Regions from separate parts of the Homo sapiens genome. Here region 1 is linked to region 2. The links are contacts of gene promoters, found by promoter capture Hi-C in blood cells and fetal thymus (Javierre and others, 2016). All regions are on one chromosome and are shown on one strand. The core of a region is centred on a gene start or on the middle of the fragment in contact, and the rest is flanking DNA. Distances in the headings are between cores, read along the strand shown.

The links. Contacts are between HindIII fragments. The CHiCAGO score rates a contact against its expected background, and 5 or more counts as called.
Region 1: a contact is called between a fragment that was not itself captured here and the fragment with the promoter of SLC9A4 in region 2, in 1 of 17 cell types (M2 macrophages). The highest score is 5.2, in M2 macrophages.

Annotation. Positions count from the first base shown.
Region 1 is chr2:102,571,596-102,575,674 of GRCh38, reverse strand. No RefSeq gene overlaps it. Among named protein-coding and RNA genes, the nearest start is that of SLC9A2, 46 kb to the left of the region's middle. The HindIII fragment of the contact is 1,643 bases long and covers 1,231-2,873 here.
Region 2 is chr2:102,471,352-102,475,398 of GRCh38, reverse strand. It overlaps SLC9A4 (solute carrier family 9 member A4), which reads right to left and starts at 2,173. Exons shown (of 12, transcript NM_001011552.4): 1 at 1,384-2,173. The coding sequence starts at 1,639. The HindIII fragment of the contact is 5,984 bases long and covers 1-3,989 here.

The DNA.
Region 1 (4,079 bases), core at 803-3,302, 100 kb before region 2:
CCAATATCCCTAATAAACATACATGCAAAAGTCCTCAACAAAATACTAGGAAACCAAATTCAATAGAACATCAGAAAGATTATATACCATGATTAAGTCGGATTTATCCCAGAGATGTAAGGATGGTTCAACAAATACAATTCAATAAACATGATACATCATATAAACAGAATTAAGGACAAAAACCATATAATCATCTTAATAAATGCAGAGAAAGCATTTGATAAAATTCAATATTCTTTCATGATAGAAACTCTCAACAAATTAAGTATCAAAGCAATATATCTCAAAACAATAATGGCCTTATATGACAAACCTACAGCTAACATGACAATATTTTCATACTGAATGGGAAAAAGTTGAAAAACTTTCCACTAATATCTAAAACAAGATAGGAATGCCCACTTTTACCACTTTTATTCAATGTCATCCTGGGAGTCTACTGCAAAATCTTATATGTAGCAAAACCTAATGACTCCACTAAAAAAACTTAGAACTGATAAATGAATTCAGTAAAGACACAGGATATAAAATCAACATGCAAAACCAGTGGCACTTCTCTATGCCAATAGCTAACAATCTGAAAAAGAAATCCCATTTATGATAGCTAAAAAATAATAAAATCCTGGAAATAAATTTTACCAAATAGGTTAAAGACCTCTACAATGAAAACTATAAAACACTTATAAAAATTATCAAAAAGAGCAAAAAATGCAAAGATATCCCATGTTCATGGATTAGAAGAATATTTTTATAATATCCATAGGGATCTACTGATTCAATGCAATTGTTATAAAAATACCAAAGACATTCTTCACAGAAACAGAGAAAAAAACCTTAAGATTTATATGGAACCACAAAAGACTCCAAATGACCAAAGCAATTTTGAGCAGAAAAGCAAAGTTGGAAATATCACTTTACCTGACTTCAAAATATACTACAAAGCTATAGTAACCAAAACCGCATAGTACTGGCATAAAAACATACACACAGACCAATGGAACAGAATAGATAACCCAGAAATAAATTCACATATTTATAGCCAACTGATTTCAACCAAGGCATCAGGAATGTAAAGTGGGGAAAGGACAGTCTCTTCAATAAATAGTGATGGGAAAACTGGATATACACATAAAGAAGAACAAAACTAGACCCATATCTCTCACCATATAAAAAAATCAATTCAAAATGGACTTAAGACTTAAATGTAAGGCTGAAACCTATGAAGCTTCTAGAAAAGAACATAGGAGAAATACTTCAGAATATTGATTTGGGCAAAGAATTTTTGGATAATACCTCAAAGGCATAGGAAATGAAAGCAAAAATAGGCAAACAGGATTATATCAAACTAAAAACCTTCTGCACAGCAAAGGAAAAAACAGAATGAAGAGACAATCTAAATGGGAGAAAATATTTTCAAATTATCCACCTAAAAGTGATTAACCTCCAGAATACATAAGAAACTCAAACAACCCAACAACAAAAAAGCAAAAAATTCTAATTAAAAATGGGCAAATAATCTGAATAGATACAAATGTCCAGTATGTATATGAAAAAATACTGAGCTTCACTAATTATCAGAGAAATGTGAATCAAAATCACATTGAGATATAAAAATAACAAATGCTGGCAATGATTTAGACAAAAAGGGACTCATACACTATTGGTGGGAATGTAAATTAGTACTGCCATTATGAAAAGAAATGATAAATGTTTGAGATGATGGATTTGCTACTGAACCTGACCTGATCCCTTTACGCCACACATATCAAAACATCCCTATGTATCCCATGAATATGTACAATTATTATTTGTCAGTTAAAAATAAAATTTAAAATACCTAAAAATAGAAATACCATGTAATTTAGCAATCCACTACTTGGAACATATCCAAAGGAAAGGAAATCAGTATGTCAAAGCAATATCTCCATTCTCATGTTTATTGCAACACTATTCACAATAGTCAAGATACAGAATCAACTTAAGTGTTCATCAATGGATAAACAGATAAAGAAAATGCGGTATAGGTACATAATAGAATACTATTTAGCCATAAAAAAGAAATCCTATTATTTGGGGCAACATAAATGAGCCTGGAAGACATTATGTTAAGTGAACCTAGGCACAGAAAGACAAATACTACCTGTTTTTACTCATATGTGGGAGCTAAAAATGTAAATCACATACAAGTAGAGAGTAAAATAATGGTTACCAGATACTGGGAAGTGTAGTGGGGAGGGGGAAATAAGGAGAGGTTGGTTAATGGGTACAAGATTACAGTTAGATAGGAGAAACAAGCTCAGTTTTCTATAGCACAGCAAGGTGACTGTGGTTAACCATAGTTGTTGTATATTTCAAAATAGTGAAAAGAGGTTTTTGAATGTTCTCAACACAAAGAAATGCTAAATGTTTGAGTTGATGGATATGCTAATTACCCTAATTTGATTATTACACATTGTATACAAATATCCATAAATATGTACAATTACTACATTTCAACTAAAATTGAAATGAAAGACGAAACACAATTATTACATACTAGAGATTGTAAAGGACATAAAAGTATAATAAGATGGTATTATGAACAGCCTCATGCCAATAAATTTGCCAACTTAGACAAAATAGAAAAAGGTATTGAAATACGCAAATCACTAAAAGTGATTTCAGAAGAAATAGTCAAATGGCTTAATATCTGCTAGAGAAATTGAGTTTATTGTTTAAAAACCTTACCACAAATAAACTATAAGTTTAGATGGTTTTACACACAAGTCCTATCAAATATTTAATGAGGAGATAACACCAAACCTATGTGAACTCTTTGAAAAGATACAGGGAAATACATCACATCTCATTTTATGAAGCCAGTATAAGCTTAGTATCAAAACATGTTAAGGGCATTACCAAGCAGAGATAATGGTAGACCAATATTATTCATGAACAAAGATACATCAATCTTCAACAAAAATATTAGCGATAGGATCCAGGAATATATTAAAAACTACTACATGATGATCAAGTTGGGTTTATCTCAGGAATGAAAGGGTAGTTCAACATTTTAAAATTAATAAAAAAGTTAATTTGTTTACTACATTAACAAAATAAAAAATAAAAATGATTTGATTACTGTATTAGATTCTGATAAAGCATTTGATGTAATATACAATCCATTAATGTAAAAATTCTTAAATTAGAAATAGAAGAGAACTTACTCTGATAACAGGTGTCTATTAATCCCCCTCCACAGTTAACTTAATGCTTACTGGTTAATTAATGATGAATTTTCGGGGGAGAGGGAGGAGCCAAGATGGCCGAATAGGAACAGCTCCGGTCTACAGCTCCCAGCGTGAGTGACGCAGAAGACAGGTGATTTCTGCATTTCCATCTGAGGTACCGGGTTCATCTCACTAGGGAGTGCCAGACAGTGGGCGCAGGCCAGTGTGTGTGCGCACCGTGCGCGAGCCGAAGCAGGGCGAGCATTGCCTCACCTGGGAAGCGCAAGGGGTCAGGGAGTTCCCTTTCCGAGTCAAAGAAAGGGGTGACGGACGCACCTGGAAAATCGGGTCACTCCCACCCGAATATTGCGCTTTTCAGACCGGCTTAAGAAACGGCGCACCACGAGACTATATCCCACACCTGGCTCAGAGGGTCCTACGCCCACGGAATCTCGCTGATTGCTAGCACAGCAGTCTGAGATCAAACTGCAAGGCGGCAACGAGGCTGGGGGAGGGGCGCCCGCCATTGCCCAGGCTTGCTTAGGTAAACAAAGCAGCCGGGAAGCTCGAACTGGGTGGAGCCCACCACAGCTCAAGGAGGCCTGCCTGCCTCTGTAGGCTCCACCTCTGGGGGCAGGGCACAGACAAACAAAAAGACAGCAGTAACCTCTGCAGACTTAAGTGTCCCTGTCTGACAGCTTTGAAGAGAGCAGTGGTTCTCCCAGCACGCAGCTGGAGATCTGAGAACGGGCAGACTGCCTCCTCAAGTGGGTCCCTGACCCCTGACCCCCGAGCAGCCTAACTGGGAGGCACCCCCCAGCAGGGGCACACTGACACCTCACACGGCAGGGTATTCCAACAGACCTG
Region 2 (4,047 bases), core at 924-3,423:
GTACTCAGATTGACTTGAGCCATTTCTGTGAAGAGGAAGCCAGGTTGTGGAATGGGGAGCAGGGAACACAGAATCTCTAGCATATTGTTTTAAAAGGAAAACTCAAGTACCAAGTAAGATCACCTTGAACACAATCAGTGTCTATATGATTTCACAAAAGATGTTAGACTGTTCTGAACTGAGAATGTTATCCATTTGGAAAGCCATTTTTACTTGTATACCTCTTAAAAATATAGTAAGATCCTTTGTGTAACTTATTCACTAAGCAAATTGCACAAGACTTCTTCAAACTAACATTCCTATTTAATATTCACACTTTACTAGCTCAAAATGAATAGCAACTATAAAGGAGAGTCTAAAGGGGACACCTATACCAGTGTCCCCACACCCACAGGGAGGGAGCTAAGTGAATAGCCAGAGCACACAGAAGGTAACTGCCAGACCTCAAGGCTCAACCCACATTACACACCCATCCTAGAGAAAACATACACATATAAATAAATGAGAATTAAAATGTTTCATTGATTCTATCTCAATAAGGCAATCTACATACTCAAATAGCATAAAGTTTATAGCTGAGGCAAAGGAGGCATTGTGCTTAGCATTTGAGATAATTATATTAATTTTCCACTTTAGAATAAGCTGGTTTTAAAGAGATAAGGAGGAGCAGTTAGGGATTAAACAGTCACAGAGTATAGCCACCTCTTTGGTTTTTGACACAAAGATCCCTTGATTGGAATTTAATCTATTAACTTGGATTCACTTTATTTCACAAAGGAAATTAGAGGTGCCTCACTGGCCCCACTTGGTAGGTATAAACTAATATTTTACTGACAGATATAATCTTATATGCCCCGACATCCCATCACTGAGTAATACAAGTTGCCTATGGTTTTCTTGTTTTTTGCTTTCTGTCAATTTGCAAGAAGCACACGCTACTTTTAAAGAATAAACAATGGGGTGATTGATGAAGCCCACAATTACACAGCCAAGAATATTTTACAGAAGAAACATTATGTGTTTCCTGAAATTTCCACCTTGCATCATGCCCAGGTCTACGTGCTTTATTCTCTATATTTTTAAAGCATAGAATTTGAGAGTTTTGCATGTCAACAATGTCACATGGTTGTCACCCTGAAATGAGAAGAAACCAACACAGCCCAGTACCCAGAAGTATGCTCTCAAATTTCAAAGAGCAATCTCAAAGTATTAAATAGCTTAGTAAAATGCAGTTATGACTTTCCCTTGACTGAAGGGAAGAGAATTTTTAATGTAATAGCAGTAACAGTTAAAATCCTCTTAGCCCGTTATCTATAAGGCATTTTCACATTCACTATCTTATGTAAAAAGATAACTCACCAAACCAGGTGTTTAAGGACTTACCTATTTTTGCAAGGGATGCTAGAAGTATCCAGAGAGTGACCTCATAAGGAATTTGCACATAGTCATAATCCAGTTCAAAAACAGATATCCCTTCCTCTGGCTCTGAGCTGGCAGCAGCAAACCAAGCGTTAGATGCATACTGAGCAGTGGAATTTGCAGATTCATTCAAATCAGAAGATGCTTCAGAACACTCAAGAGCCACTAGCAGTAGCAAACAATTCCAAGGACTGTAAGTCACGAACATCTGCAGAGCCATTCCTGTGGGCTTCTCCTACCTACACCCCTGTGTGGATGTGTGCCACACATCTGAAGTCGGGGAGGCTTCTAGAGAGTGACTGCATCCACCTGGGTCAAAAGTAATATAGGTACAGTCTGTGGGTCCTCCCAAGAAGATTCCGAGTGTGTTATTGAGCTCTGTATGTAGACACTTTCTAATCTGGTTTAAATCGTTTGTGTTCAGGCAACTCAGCTTCCAACTCAAATGCAGTTATTCAATAGACTTGTTAAAGTCCATGGAGCTACCTGGAGGACCTCCATCCAATCATGGCTTGAGCAATTTATGAAAGAAATAAAAATCTCTTCACTTAAAGGCATTTCCTCATTTCACTGCATACTGGCTTTGTCTTGTGGGTGAAAATTTAAAAGGATACTGTAGTGCTCATTCCACAGATCACTGGAGTCCTTCTAATGAGGAAAGGAAACCTTCCCTGTCTATCAGATCCCAAGAAGGAGCTACCTGATCTGCGCTTGTTCCTTCTCTCCTCCCCCTGTCCTCTCATTTGTTTTGAATGACCACGGCTTCAGGTAGCTCTGGAACTACACTTAATTATTTGCTTTGATTTGACTTTTGTAATGAAATCCTTTCTCTGAGGGTTCTCTGGAGGTCACACTGCTGACACCTAGTGGGCACCTGCAATACAACACCCTTGACACTTTCAGTTATGAACGTTAAGGTGACCATGAAATTATCTAAACCAGGACACTTTGGGGAATGAATAATAATGATAATTATGCAAAGCTATAGGCACAAACCAGAATTGTCCAGCAAACTGTCTTATATGGTCTCTATACATGAGGAAGAAGGAGGATAAGAAGGAGGTGGTAACAACAAGGATGGTAGCAAACACTGAAACTTTTGCATGTTACCAGACTCCATGAGCAGTCATTCATAGAAGGAATGAAGTTCCAGATCTCTATGAACTTTACACTATAATTTTTAAAAAACAGGAAGCCAAAGAACAAGTTCCATAAATACACCTAAATACCTGGATTTGTAAAACTCCATGGCACATCCAGATTTTCCATTTAAAAAACATTTGTTGTTGTTAAAAAGAAGCAGCATCATAGAATGTTGATGAAAGAATTTTGAGATAATTTTTATGAGCCTACTTCTCGCTCTTCTACTTGTTGCCAGGTGACCTTGGTGAAGTTAATTACCTTTCAGAAATTCCTTATCTGAAACAGAGAGGAAAATATCTGCCTCATTGAGTAGCTAGGAACATTAAATGAGATAAAGCAAGTAAAGAATTTGGCATGTAGTTGGCACTTAAATGTTAGTTTTTATTTTAAATTACATTTCTTATACTTTTAGGATAAGATACAACACTTTTGCAATGATTACTGATACTCAGTAAAAAATGAGAATAATACATCATCCATATACTACCCCAACATCTCTTTTACATCAAACTGCAAGATGCTTTGTGTTTTGTTTTTTCTTAGTTCATATTAGTGAGTGCAGGGGATTTCCCCCCAGCCAACACACACACACACACACACACACACACACACACACACACACACACACTCAGCTAACATCACTGGGAAATTGAGAAAGGAATGGTTGAGAAGGGCTAACACCTAGATGCAAATTCATAGTGAGGCAATAGAATTAAAAGTTCACATATGAATATTTTTTCTTTTTCCTTCAGTTTGACTCCAGAATAGATTAGATTCAGTCACTGAAATGAGACTATCAGGTGGACTACAAGAAGGGTACACATATTGAGTCGATTATTTTTTCTCAAAGAATATATGAATATCCTTTAATAGAAAGCTGCTTTATAATAGGTGTTTTATTTTTATTTGCATTTTATTGTACTTTTCTTTCTAAAAAGAAATGAGGGAGCAAGTCTCACATAGTGCCTTGTGGAAAGACCAAAATGAAGAATCAAAAGACTTATGTACTCAGACATTAGTTATCTGATTGGCTTTGGAAAATTACCTGTTTGAGCCTTATAGTTTGAGCCTTTATAGTTTTCTCATCTATAAAATAAAGATGCTGTCCATACCTGGTAACCCTTTCCTGCTCTAAAATTCCAAATTTTGTGAGTATATGGCAACCCGTTTAGCCTTATGATCACCTGATGGCTGATAGTCCAGTCCCTCTCAGAGTAAAAATGCCAATCTTGGGAGGATGGTAAGAGAACAACTTGAGCTCTGCAACAGTCTACTAACTTGTGGTCCAGGTTAAGATGTAGCAGCCCACTTCATCAACCATCGGCATCACTTCCACTCATGCAGTACTTTCTTACAGATGTCAGAACATTCTTTCTAAAATGATTTCTTAGTATAAGGTCCCCAGAAAGTGTATGTGAGACAAAGCTTCCATGAGAAGTGCAAACTAAGGGCAGCAAAAGTGAGGGGAAAGGGGGAAGAAAGGAG